Linked DNA regions of Homo sapiens: regions 1, 2 and 4 are each linked to region 3. The links are contacts of gene promoters, found by promoter capture Hi-C in blood cells and fetal thymus (Javierre and others, 2016). All regions are on one chromosome and are shown on one strand. The core of a region is centred on a gene start or on the middle of the fragment in contact, and the rest is flanking DNA. Distances in the headings are between cores, read along the strand shown.

What was found. The method cuts DNA at HindIII sites, captures the fragments that hold promoters and counts their contacts. A CHiCAGO score of 5 or more calls a contact.
Region 1: a fragment that was not itself captured here is called in contact with the fragment with the promoter of MSH4 in region 3 in 7 of 17 cell types (total CD4 T cells, total CD8 T cells, naive CD4 T cells and 4 more); the score reaches 11.2 in total CD4 T cells.
Region 2: a contact is called between a fragment that was not itself captured here and the fragment with the promoter of MSH4 in region 3, in 1 of 17 cell types (activated CD4 T cells). The highest score is 5.3, in activated CD4 T cells.
Region 4: a fragment that was not itself captured here is called in contact with the fragment with the promoter of MSH4 in region 3 in 5 of 17 cell types (total CD8 T cells, activated CD4 T cells, total CD4 T cells and 2 more); the score reaches 10.9 in total CD8 T cells.

The regions. Positions count from the first base shown.
Region 1 is chr1:77,799,828-77,803,374 of GRCh38, forward strand. MIGA1 (mitoguardin 1) reads left to right here. Exons shown (of 16, transcript NM_001416120.1): 3 at 1,504-1,681; 4 at 3,443-3,547. Among named protein-coding and RNA genes, the nearest start is that of MIGA1, 22 kb to the left of the region's middle. The HindIII fragment of the contact is 3,199 bases long and covers 146-3,344 here.
Region 2 is chr1:77,826,865-77,830,224 of GRCh38, forward strand. The region is part of intron 7 of MIGA1 (mitoguardin 1); the gene reads left to right. Among named protein-coding and RNA genes, the nearest start is that of MIGA1, 49 kb to the left of the region's middle. The HindIII fragment of the contact is 742 bases long and covers 1,490-2,231 here.
Region 3 is chr1:75,794,793-75,798,442 of GRCh38, forward strand. It overlaps MSH4 (mutS homolog 4), which reads left to right and starts at 2,090. Exons shown (of 20, transcript NM_002440.4): 1 at 2,090-2,437. The coding sequence starts at 2,194. It overlaps RABGGTB (Rab geranylgeranyltransferase subunit beta), which reads left to right. Exons shown (of 9, transcript NM_004582.4): 9 at 1-294. The HindIII fragment of the contact is 6,934 bases long and covers 1-3,606 here.
Region 4 is chr1:77,993,214-77,996,488 of GRCh38, forward strand. It overlaps a transcript of DNAJB4 not described here. Among named protein-coding and RNA genes, the nearest start is that of DNAJB4, 10 kb to the right of the region's middle. The HindIII fragment of the contact is 2,170 bases long and covers 657-2,826 here.

The DNA of each region.
Region 1 (3,547 bases), core at 495-2,994, 2.0 Mb after region 3:
GGCTAGAGGTTTTATTAGTTTTCCTTCCAAAAAAAAAAACCAGCTGTTGGTCTTATTGATTTCTGCTTTAATCTTTATAATGCTTCCTATATCCTGCTTGTTTTAGGTTGAATTTGTACTTCTTTTTCTAGAATCTTAAGTCGAAAGCTTAGATTACTGATTTGATATCTTTCCTTTTTTAATATAAGCATTTAATGGCATAAATTTCTCTCTAAAGTTAAAGATGCATCCACAGTTTAAGGCTTTTGTTCTTTAATGGGGATAGAGGAGAAAGGTTATGGTGCTGGTTCATGCCCTCCACAGAAGCTGCTGTTTCCCTCCCTCTGTACCATTAGGGAGACTTTTGTAGGACTCTTTCAGTATTTTCTACGAGTGCCTGGTGATTCTTGATGATAAGATATGCAAGAAAGGTGTGGATTTCACCTACATTTGCAGCACCTCTCTCCAGCCTCTCAACAGTGTATTCTTTCTCCACCAGATTTGAAACGATGCTTGCTGACCTCTTCTTGCTAACGTCATGCTATGTCTTGTCCGTGTAAGCCAATGCTAATGTCTTACCTCTCTGCAAATGCCTGTCTCGTTAGTTTAGGGGGCAATTGGTTGCCCTCTGATCTCCGTATTCTGATGGAGTCAGAATACTTTATTTTGTTGTTGGAGGGTTGAAAGTGACATTCTTTCCAGCTCTCAACATTCCAAGCCTTTAGCTTTATTTTAGAGTTCCTTTGCTTTTAGGTATTTAATAGTGTTTGTCTCCCAAGAGAAAGTTAATCGCTTCTTGCTCTGATGTTAGTACTTATATAACTTAGTACTTGTATAACTGTATTTATCACATTATGCTGTAATTATTTGCCAATATATCTGTCTCCACTCTTAGCACACTGCTTGAGGGAAATAGAAGAGTATACGCAAAATGCAAGATCTGTGACCTCTGTATACATAGTGCTTCCTGATTGGTTGTAGGCACTTATTATGTGCTCATAGAATAGAATTACAGTAAGATTTTAATTTATAACACAGTCCTGGTACTTTAAGATTCTGAAGAAATATTTGTTAAATAATTTGTGAATAAAATGGCTTATTTAGAAAGTATTTAGAAATGGATTTAGCTTCTATTTCCTCAGATTTCCAGATAGTTTTTTTTAAAGCTCAGTTTAATCATCCCTGTAAAAAATCTTGCTGTGATTCAGACAGAAGATTCAGTTGCGTGAATTAATCCTTAATTGCTCAAAAAATATTAACGGGGTTGAATTATTTTCTGCTCCTATTGACTTTGGGGTAATATTGTTTACCTGAGATCTTCAGAGTAGTGAGTAATAAATTACAACATTTAAGATATTTTTTAAAAAATCAAATTGGGCTAGCTTGTCATTGAAAGAGTGAAATGATATTCTCTTGATAGTATTTAGAAATAGGTTAGATTAAGAGTAAGTTTAGTTATTAGGTCCTTCTTTTAAGTGAACAAATTAAAGAGATTTTTTTCAATTTTAACTGAATCTTTTCCAGATCAAATTTTCTCCGGTGGCTAAAAAGTTGTTTGTGGTAACTGCAGTGAGTGCTATATCTGTAATTTTTCTGGCTCATCACTTTAAAAGAAAACGTGGAAAGAAGAAAGGAAAAATATTACCATGGGAACCAGAGCACCTCATACTTGAATACACTAAAAGAGCAGCATCAGACAAAGGTATGTGGAAATAGTTGAAGTAAGTGTACAAAAGTGTGTAAATCATAACTGGAATACAGTGATTTTGGTCTTTTAGTCTCCAGAATTTTCTTCCTAATATATTATTTAACTCAAAAGTAGTACAGATTTATTTTAGAAAGATTAGAAAATGTAGATAAGCAAACAAAAAATTAAAATTACTTGACATTCTGGTACCCAGAAATAACTACTGATAATACTTTCATGTATATCAGTCCACTTATATTTGTATTTAAATGTCATATTGAGACATAAAATGTTATATACAAGTAAATTATTTATGTATTTTAAGTAAAATTGTAATCAGACATTTTGTAACCTGCTTTTAAGATATTTGACAGTGTGGAAGAATGTCTTTCCAGGTCAATAAATATCCCTCTGTGCTATCATTTTTAATATATAACTAGTGTTAATTTGTATGAATGTACCCCAATTTATTTAATCATTTCCCCATTGTTCCCTTTAGGATGCTTGTGTTTTTCTTATTTTGTGTATCCTTGTCTATTTTCCTTAGTATGTAGAGTTCAAGAAGTAAGTTGCTGTCTTTTAAAGGATCTTTAATTTTTGGTAAAGATATCGTATGAATAAAAATAATTCCTTAAACATGCTGAGTTTCTTAGTTTTTTATTATTTAGTGAGTGTGTGATATGCTTTTGTGAGTCATCTGTCCAGCATACAATTAATGAGTGACTATTTCGTACTGAGTGCAGTGAACATTGCAACAGTAATGATTGCTGTCACTTGCTGAGATTTTATTAGGTCTCAGGTAAGTGCCATATATTCAGTGCTTTATTTAACCTTACAGCAATCCTGTGAATTAGGATTATAGTCTTGTTATTGTTTCTATATTCTACATAAAGAAAACTGAGATATGCAAAAGCTAAGTGACTTGCCCAAGGTCATATAATTTATAAGTGCCGGGATTTGAATCCAGGAACATCTTAACTGCTGCATTAAGAAAAACTTGTGCAGCATGGTGACTCGTTACTATAATTCCAGCACTTTGGGAGGCCAAAGCAGGAGGATGGCTTGAGCCCAGTAGTTTAAACCAGCCTGGACAACATAGTGGGACCACATCTTTACAAAAATAACAATAAAAAAATTGTTTTTTTTGGTGTGGTGGCACAGCTAGCTAGTCCCAGCTACTCGGGAGGCTGAAGTGGGAGGATCACCTGACCCAGGACGTCAGTGCTGCAGTGAGACATGATTGCACCACTGCACTCCAGCCAGGGTGACAGAGTGAGATCTTTTCTCAAAAAAAGGAAAAAAAAAAACCAAGAAACTAATGTCAGTCTTAGAAGAATGGATAGATGAGTAGAAGAGGCAGAAGTATAACTAATTTCAATGCAATGAGATTTGGGTAAGGTTTAGATGTAATTCAGAAAAGGAAATGCCTGTATTTTGTTAAATTTACAGTTTAACAAAATTGTAAATTTAACATAGTCACCAGTATTTTTATACTGGTTACAATAGACCATTCAAATACCATCCTAATTTATTAGGTGAATATTCTATTCTTCATTTCAGAAGCAGATTTTAGCAGTGTTGAAAAAAGATTATATAAGATTATATAAAGATTTAGATTTTAATAATGATGTACATGTAATAATTTACACAAGTGAGTGATGCATGTTTTAAAATTAGAAGCTTTCTGGGTGAATATATTATAAACTCTGAAATTTTTACCTGAAATTTATCATTGGCGTTATTGATATTTTTAATATTAGTATGTTTATTTGATAGGTTCAAGTTGTTCCAGTAGCAGACAGAATTTGACATTATCTTTAAGTTCTACCAAAGACAAAGGATCTCAAGTTTGTAACTATGCTAATGGAGGACTTTTCAGTA
Region 2 (3,360 bases), core at 611-3,110, 2.0 Mb after region 3:
CACATTCTTGGCTCACTGCAACCTCTGCCTCCTGGGTTCAAGTGATTCTCCTGCCTCAGCCTCCCGAGTAACTGGGATTAAAAGCGCCCGCCAGCACGCCCAGCTAATTTTTTTGTATATTTAGCTGAAATGGGATTTCACCATGTTGGCCAGGCTGGTCTCAAGCTCCTGACCTCAGGTGATCCACTCAGCTGGGCCTCCCAAAGTGCTGGAATTACAGGCATGAGCCACTGCACCTGGCCAAAAAGAGCCTTTTTTTTTTGAGATGGTGTTTTGCTCTGTGGCCCAGCTGGAGTGCAGTGGCACGATCTCCGCTCACTGCCTCCTGAGTTCAAGTGATTCTCCTGTCTTAGCCTCCCGACTACCACGCCTGACCTAAACTTTTTTTCTTAATAGCCAGATTGGACAATGTGTTAAGGATTTTTACAACTTCTTCCTTTCCCCTCAAAAAAATTCTCTGGAAGCTGGGTGTGTTGACTCACGCCTGTAGTCTCAGCTACTTGGGAGGCTGAGTGGGGAGGGTTGCTTGAGTCTTGGAAATCGAGGCCGCAGTGAGCTATGATCACACCACCGCACTCCAGCTTGGGTGACAGAGTGAGACCCTGTCTCAAAAAATAAAATAAAATAAAATAAAAAATTATCTGGAGAAGAGAATACAGAGCAAATTAACAACATACTTACCCAGCCAGCTGCGTAGAGATTCCCTGCCTGCCTTACAATTTCTGCCAACACTTTGTCCAGCTCAGAAGGAGTGAGATCCAGAGCAAAAGTGAGGATGGGTTTGCAGACCCTGACCTTTCTCTAGAAAGTCTGCGAAGGAGAGTGAACTAGTACACACCAAGAACTAGTGAACATTAATTTTATCTTATTTTCCTCTACCTGGTTAATTGCATGCAGGTTCTCAGCATTAGCCAAGTTACTCTTCCCATGGGGAGGAGCAATTGAAGAGGTGAAGGGAGCAACTTAAAATGTAAAACCAGAATAGCTGCTTCTTGGAGATTGGAGTGGAAGTCCTATATGAAATATGAAGGTGGGATACAAAAATTAGCTGGGTGTGGTGGTGTGCATCTGTGGTCCCAGCTACTTGGGAGGCTGAGGTAGGAGTATAGCTTGAACCCAGGAGGAGGAGGCTGCAGTGAACCAAGATTGGGCCACTGCACTCCAGCCTGGGCAACAGAGTGAGACTTTGTCTTATAAATAAATAAATAAATAAATAAAGGTGGGTGGGGAGGTTTAATGGTTTCCTTTGTGACATTGATTACTCTTGACAATACATTATAATTATTTATGTACATATCCAGTGTGTTATGCTAAACCTTAAACTCCTTGTGGGCAGAAGACATACTTAATTCTATTCAGTGTCTGAAACTGGTTTGAATGTAGTATAGATAGTAGTAGGTCTGTGGGTCTTCTATGATGTTTATCAGAATCACCTTCATAGGTTTTGCTCTAGACCTACTGAAATTGAAACTTTGGGGTTGGGACATGAAGCTTTGGGTTTGTATTTCCTAGTTCAGCAGGTGATTCTCATGTGCATTTCTGCTTACGAGGCCCTGCAGGTAATATCTGAATGATAGATATTTGGATGGATAGACAAGATGGGTATCATTAAGGTTTTTTGCAATAAATTTAAGTAAATGGTATAATTTCAGCTTATTAAATACAGAACTTTATTTTTAGTGAAGTAGAAATTTAAAACTAATTTTTTAAGTACATGAGGAAAATATAATGTATGGTTCATGTGTATTTTATTTTAAGCCTCAAATATATAAAGTACTACTGCCAGTAAGTCTGTTTGTCTTTTTGTTTTTTCTTTTTAAAAATTTGAAGCAGGGTCTCACTCTGTCACCCAGGCTGGAGTGCAGTGGTGTGACCATAGCTTACTATAGCCTTGAACTATTGGGCTCAAGGGATCCTCCCACCTCAGCCTTCCAAGTAGCTGGGACTACAGGCATGTGCCACACCACCCAGCTAATTTTTTTTGTATTTTTTGTAGACATGGGAGTCTTCCTGTATTTCACAGGCTGGGCTCGAACTCCTGGGCTCAAGTGGTCGTCCTGCCTCAGCCTCCCAAAGTGCTGGGATTACAGGCATGAGCCATTGTACCTGGTCCCAGATATTTAATTTTAATGTCATCACATTTTTCATTCTTTCCTATATGGTTTGTGCTTTCTATGTATTGTTTAGAGGGATAAAGATAATTCTTTTGTATTTTCCTTGGAAAGTGTTAAAGCTTTGTTTTTCATATTTAGGTCTTTATTCTTCTAGAAGTTGGTCAGGTATGGTGGCTCATGCATGTAATCCCAGCACTTTGGGAGGCCAAGGTGGGAGGATTGCTTGAGGCCAAGAGTTTGAGACCAGCCTGGGCAATGTAGTAAGACCCTGTCTCTACAAAAAAATAAGTAGAATAATTAATTTTATAAAAGTAATTAGCTGGGTGTGGTGGCATGCGTGTATATGCCTGTTGTCTCAGCTACTTGGGAGGCTGAGATAGCAGGATCTTTTGAGCCTGGGAGTTTGAAGCTGTAGTGAGCTAGGATGGCACCACTGCACTTCAGCCTTGGTAACAGAGTGAGACCCTGTCCCTTAAAAAATCTTCTAGAAGTTTTGTTTGTTTGTTTTGAGACAGAGTCTCGTTCTGTCACCTAGGCTGGAGTGCCGCGGCGCGATCTCAGCTCACTGCAACCTTCACCTCCTAGGTTCAAGTGATTCTCGTGCCTCAGCTTTCCTAGTAGCTGGGAGTACAGGCACCTGCCACCACGCCCAGCTAATTTTTTTGTATTTTTAGTAGAGACGGGGTTTCACCATGTTGGCCAGGCTGATCTTGAACTCCTGATCTCAAGTGATCCTCCCATCTCGGCCTCCCAAAGTCCTGAGATTACAGGCGTGACCCACTGCGCCCGGCCGTAGAAGTTTTTTTAAATGTATTTTATTGTTTTGTTTTTAATGTTTGGATGGGTAATTGCCTCAGCACCTCTCTTTGAATAATATATTCTTTTCTGACTGATTTGCAAAGCCCCCCCACCCCCCACCGTCATATGTCAGGTCTCTTTCTGTGTGTCTTTTCTGGGCTCTCTATTTTGTTCTGTTAATCTGTTTCCTGCATTGGTTTCACAGTGTCTTAATTACTGTAGCTTTATATAGCTTTATAATAAATCTTGACACTTGGCAGGGTGAGTCCATTCACTGTGGGGCTTTTTGAGACTTGTCATGACTATTCTTAGCCCTTTGCTTTTCCATGTGAAGTTTAGGACAGCTTGTCAAGTTTCATGAAAAACTCTCTTGGGATTTTGATTATTATATTGTATTTATAGGTCAGCTGTAGGCAAATTTACATTTTCATAATAGTAACCTTTATAT
Region 3 (3,650 bases), core at 840-3,339:
ATATTGTAAAATAAAGACCGGTATTTTATTTTCTGCTTTTTATTCTGAAGTCCTGTTATTCTGACTACAGTTCTTTGTGTATACTTCTGTGTCTGTTATGTTCAATAACTGAGCTAACATAAAATAACTCTAGGTTTCTACTTGATTTTTCCCCCATGTATACCTTTCATCTGTTCTATAGCAAGTTGATGTAAATTGGTTTGTCAACAAGAATGTTAACTGATGAAAGTGGATAGAACCCATACATGAATTAAATGATGCACAAAATAAATGGCTGTTGAAATTTGGAAATGATTGATAGGTTTGAATATGGTTATTCTGAATTGGTCACAGACTTAGGTTAAATGGCAATCTACCATCTTAAAATGGGGTTGTGATTCGGACTGTCCTTTTTTTTTTTTTTTTTTTTTTTTTTTTTAGCATTTTATATATCAGAATTACCCAAAGAAGGAGTTGTCTTCAAATAAGGAAACACTAACGGGTAAGTTGATGGTCACCACAGTATTTTTTTGCACCTGTCTTTTTCTTAAAAAGCTAAAATGGGTACAATCACTCTTTTTTATTTTTTTGTGACAGAATCTCTGTTGCCCAGGCTGGAGCGCAGCAGCACGATCTCAGCTTAACTGCAACCTCCGTCTGCCGGGTTTAAGCAATTCAGCCGCAGCCTCTCGAGTAGCTGGGACTACAGCCGCACACCACCATGCCCGGCTAATTTTTATGTTACTTTAGTACAGACAGGGTTTCACCATGCTGAGGAGCTGGAGACCAGCCTGACCTTGTGATCCACCCACCTCGGCCTCCCAAAGTGCTGGGATTACAGGCGTGAGCCACCACGCCTGGCCTAAAATGAGTACAATCACTCTAGGGGTTTACAGTTTTGGTGAAAGTGAGGTATTCTCTATTTTTAAATTTTATTTTTTAGAGACAGGGTCTTCCTTTCTTCCCCAGGCTGGGGCATAGTAGTGCAATCACAGCTCACTGTAACCTTAAACTCCTGGGCTCAAGCAGTCCTTCCACCTCAGCCTCCTGAGTACCAGGGTCTACAGGTACCTGCCACCATGCCCACTATGCCCAGCTGATTTCTTAATTTTGGGGACAGGCACTGTCTTCCCCAGGCTGGTCTCCGGAGGTGAAGTAATCCTCTGGCCTCAGTCTCCCAAAGTACTGGGATTACAGGGAGGAGCCATCGTGCCCGATCTGAAAATAAGGTTTTTTGATGGAAATTGAGATTTTTCTCAAGTATGTTTGGAATGCCCTGTGCAATAATCATTCCAAGAACAGAGATGTTCTTAAGGACTGTTGTCACTGCATGTGGGTAAACCGCTGTGCATAACTGGTTTATTGAGATACTCAACAGTGGCAGGATTTCAGTAGTGGTGTAAATTAATGTCTTCTAATAGCTTCTGTATGGCAGTATCCAGATAATTTCGTCATGTTTAATCCATGGATCTCTGGTAAGTTGGTACTATTGGCCTTATTTAAGGAATTTTCTAAAGGTCACCACTGCAAAGCTGGAGTTTGAACTTCTAGTGTGCCATTAACTGATTTATATGTTAGAAACCACAGTACTAGAAATTGGTAGATGGGGAATTGTTAACTGAGAGATCTTACCCAGTCAGTCTTTCCCTGTTTCCTACTCTACTATGCACACAGCCATGTGCATACTATCTTTTGATAATATAACTATCTTTCCTATATTTGGTCACAAGATCAACCTTAGGTGGGTTATGCTGTGTGAGCATTACACGTTCTCATTGTGTCAAAGGCACTGGGTGTACTGTGTTGGGTGGTTTCTACATTTAAAGATAAGCTAGTGTGCTTGGACGTGTGGGAAATGCATGTAACATTTGCAATAAGGGAGATTGGGTGCTGTGAGAATAATGGGGCTAACAAATCGGGTGGTCATTGATGGGCCTTGCAGAGTTCTGGTCAGTCTGATACCTGCAGGCTGAGGATGTTCCAGTGAGGTTCATGTGGAAAGTGATGGGTTTGGGAATGGCTGGAAGCAGGGTCATAGACCTGAAGTACGTGAATCCATGTGGAAAGCTGAGCCTGCCTGCGCCTGCGCAGTGCAGCTTAGTGCGTCGGCGCGCAGTTCTCCCGCCCGTTTCAGCGGCGCAGCTTCTGTAGTTGGGCTACTGGAGGGGTCGCTCAGAAACCTCATACTTCTCGGGTCAGGGAAGGTTTGGGAGGATGCTGAGGCCTGAGATCTCATCAACCTCGCCTTCTGCCCCGGCGGTTTCCCCGTCGTCGGGAGAAACCCGCTCACCTCAGGGTCCCCGCTACAATTTCGGACTCCAGGAGACTCCACAGAGCCGCCCTTCGGTCCAGGTGGTCTCTGCATCCACCTGTCCTGGCACGTCAGGAGCTGCGGGCGACCGGAGCAGCAGCAGCAGCAGCCTTCCCTGCCCCGCGCCAAACTCCCGGCCAGCTCAAGGCAAGGAGTGATTGGGTGGAGGAGTCTCCTTGAGGCTAGAGGCCGGCAGTTCATGGAGGCTCGGGGGCACGTGGGTGGTGGTTACCACAGTGAAGTTGTGATTTGGTTGGGGCGTGAGATCTGAGTGCCCTGGGAATTTGGTGAGTCTGGGTGATTAGAAGCCTTGACTTTTCAAATTGGTTCTATTGCAAGACCTTGACTGTGGATGGCTCAGTTCTGAGAAAGGCTGAAGTATCCCATATAACGTCCCTCACAGTGTCTGACAAATGACAGTTTGTGCGTGAGTTTGCTGATAGAAGTTGTGAGCTGATCTTTGGCTGCTGAATTTAATTCTCCAAATCCTGCTAAGGTGGGATAAAATAGATTAAATTGAACATTTCATCTAATTCAGGGAAAATAATATGTTTAGTATTAAAAGAGTGGGCTGGGCGGTGGCTGACGCCTGTAATCCCAGCACTTTGGGAAACCAGGGTGGGCGGATCACTTGAGGCCGGGAGTTCCACACCAGCCTGGCCAACATGGTGAACCTCCCACCCCCATCCCCTATCTCTACTAAAAGTACAAAAATTATCTGGGTGTGGTGGCACGTGACTGTGGTCCCAGCTACTCAGGAGGTTGAGGTGGGAGGATGGCGAGTCCGGGAGGTCGAGGCTGCCGTGAGCTGAGATTGCGCCACTGCATTTCAGCCTGGGTGACACAGTGAGACCCTGACTCAAAACAAACAAACAAAAAAGATGCATGTCCTTCAAATCATTTATTATTTTGTTAGTCTCTATTCATGACAAAGCATCACCATTTTTCACACACGATTGCAACACAATGGTAAAGTAACAAATACCAAATCCAATGGTCATTTTTCAGTTCATCTCATGTGACCTTTCTGCTGTATTTAATGTTCTTAATTTCTTTATTTTTAGAAACAGAGTCTCGCTATGCTGCCCATGCTGGTCTCAAACTCCTGGTCTCAAGTGCTCCTGCCTCGGTCTGCCCAAGCATTGGGATTACAGGCATGAGCCACTGCTGCCTGGCCTATGTTTAATGTTCTTGACTGGTCTTCTCTTAAACTCTTTTAATTTGGCTTCCTTGATTCCACTTGCCCCTGTTTTTCTGCTACCTCCCAGAGAATTGCTGTGCCCACCTTTGTTCCCAAATTATGGGCATGTCATTAAAGCTTTTTTTCCTAGGCCACTTCTACCTAGATGTGACTATCTCC
Region 4 (3,275 bases), core at 492-2,991, 2.2 Mb after region 3:
CAGTCTCTGCTGCAGCTACTCAACTCTACCGCTGTCTGGCAAAAGCAACAATAGACATTAGGTATTACTTTATATAGTTATAGTATAAACTCCTTTTTCTTTTATTTTTTTTCTTTTTTGAGATCGAGTCTCGCTCTGTCACCCAGGCTGGAGTGCAGTGGAACAATCTTGGCTCACTGAACCTCCACCTCCCGGGTTTAAACAATTCTCCTGCCTCAGCCTCCCAAGTAGCTGGGACTACAAGTGTGTGCCACCACATCTGGCTAATTTTTTTGTATTTTTAGTAGAGATAGGGTTTCACCACGTTGGCCAGGCTGGTCTCGAACTCCTGACCTCAATTGATCCGCCCTCCTTGGCCTTCTAAGGTGCTGGGATATAGGCATGAGCCACCGTGCCTGACTTATTTATAGTATAAACTCCTTAAGGGTAGGGACTATGTATTATACTGTTTTATCCTTCATGTTACATGTAACAGTATAGCACAGTGGGGTCTCAGTAATGGTTGGCTTGATATGCTGATTTGACCTAGATAACAAAAAGTTTATATTTTTGAAATATTAATAACTTGAACATTAAAACCCATCCATTTACAGTTAATTTATTTTAGAGATATATTTTTCTCTAAATATCCTTCTTTAGACAATTATAATAGTTCAAGCTTATGCATTTGGAATTAGGTAGTCAATGGCTGAATTTTATAGTAGTTGGTAAATACTATAGGACATACGGGCTTATTTATATAAATGTTCTAATACTTATATTTGGTAGCCATTATTAAAGTCTTCGAATCATAGTTAAGTCTCCATGGTAGCAGTGGTTTCGTGATTATGTTTTAATGGATGCAGTATACGATAAAGTTAATTCATAGTTAAAGTTTGGTACTGATTTAAATTAAATCATTTGAGAGGCCAGGCACAATGGCTCACACCTGTAATCCTAGCACTTTGGGAGGCGGAGGTGGGAAGATAGCTTGAGCCCAGGAGTTCAAGACTAGCCTAAGCAAAATAGGGAGACCCTATCTCTACAAAAGAAAAAATAGCTAGACATGGTGGCACATGCCTGTAGTCCCAGCTATTTGGGAGGCTGAGTTGGGAGGACTACTTGAGCCCCGGAGGCTGAGACTGCAGTGAGCCATAATGAAACCACTGCACTCTAGCCTGGGTGACAGAGCAAGACTGTCTCAAAAAAAAAAAAAAAAGAAAAAAATTATTTGAGAATTGTAAACAATTAGCTAAACAAACTTGCTAAATAATCAGTTTGTTGCAGTCTTGGCTAAGAGCCTAATAATTCAATGAAACAGCTGCATATCCTCTCCTCCTCTTGGGCTACAGACATTTTTTTTCTGTGTACTCCTTAAACTACTCTCTCTCTTTTTTTTTTTTTTTAACTACTCTCATTTTTCTAATGAGCCAATTAAGATGACATCTCAGGCCACATATAAGAAAAGAGTATGAGAAGAGACATTTTAGAAAAGATAAAAGTGAAAATCACGTAGATTCCTCATTTCCAAGTGTTGCTTTTACAATTAAACATTGTGAAAGTGTATGTCAACTGAGCATGTGTAAATACATTCCTACTACCTTAAGTGTAAAGTATTATTTTGAAAAAAATTATCATATTGTTTATATGGATGAACAATGTAGTACTATTTTATAAGTAAAATAGAGTTCACCTGTTAAGACTTTATTTACCCTAAATGTGCATGTGAGAGGTATGTATGTGTGGTATACTTGGGCTGAGATTCACAGGCTGAGATTTCTGAAAAATTGGATTATAGTACTGCCGACTAGAAGGAACCACTAGATCTGCACTGTCCAACACAGTAGCCACTAGCCACATGAGACTCTTAAGCTACTGAAATGTACCTATCTGAATTGAGGTCAAAGTGTAAAATACATGCTGTATTTCAAATATTTAGTACAAAAAATAAAGAATGTAAAGTATTTCATTGATAATTTGTATTTTGATTATATGCTGCAATGATAATATTTTGGATTTACTAGGTTAAATAAAATACATTATTAAAATTAATTTCACGTTTGTTTTTACTTTAAAAAAATATGGTTTCTGGAAATGTGGCTTGCATTTGTAGCTTGCTTTATATTTCTGTTGGACAGCACTGGTCTAAATAGTGTGATCTTTCAACACAGGCAAAATGTTATAATGAAATATTAGTTTATCAAGACCCATTTAAAATGATGTAGAAACTCTAGCTCTTTTTAAAATTTTTTGGCTAATACAGTGTTTTTGGTTTTGAGACAGTCTTGCTCTGTTGCCCAGGCTTGAAGTGCAGTGGTGTCGTGATCATGGCTTATTGCAGCCTCATCTCCCTGGGCTCAAGTGATCCTCCTGCCTCAGCCTCCCAAGTAGCTAGGACTACAGGTGCATGCCACTACATCTGGCTAATCTGTTTTATTTTTTGTAGATACGAGGTCTCACTATGTTGCTCAGCTGGTCTTGAACTCCTAGACTCAAGTGATCCTTTTGCCTTGGCTTCCTAAAGTACTGGGATTACAAGTGTGAGCTATCACCCTGGGCCTAACTCAGTGTTTAAAATCAGTGTAAAGAACACTTTATTTTAAATTAGCTGGGTGTGGTGGCACATGCCTGTAGTCCCAGCTACTTGGGAGGCTGAAATAGGAGAATCACTTGAACCCGGGAGGCGGAGGTTACAGTGAGCCCAGACTGTGCCATTGCACTCCAGCCTGGGCAACAGAGTGAGATTCTGTCTCAAAAAACAAAACAAAACAAAAAAAGAACTCTTTAAATTATTTCAAAATGCCAGAAAAGTATATTAGCTCGCCATACATTCACTAGTCATTAGCAAGCTTTCAAGGACTTATTGTAAAAGAGGGTAACAAAGAAGGGCTAGTTGTTGCTTGAATATTTTATTCATCCCAGTTAGAATAAGTTAGTTCTATACTCCCCAAAAAAGGAAATGATATATATATTTTTTGGATACAGGGTCTTATTGTGTCACTCAGGTTTGAATACAGTGGCATGATCACGGCTCACCTGCAGCCTTGACCTCCTGGACCCAAGCCATCCCCCTGCCTGAGCCTCCTGAGTAGCTGGGACTACAGGCACATGCCACCATGCCTGGCTGATTTGTAAATTTTTTGTAGGGATGGAATTCTCACTTTGTTACCCAGGCTAGTCTCAAACTCCTGGGCTCAAGTGATCCTCTCACCTCGTGCTTCTAAAGTGCTGGGATTACAGGTGTAAGCTACTGCACCTGGCTGATTTATTTTTTTAAGTATAAAATATGTCTGATC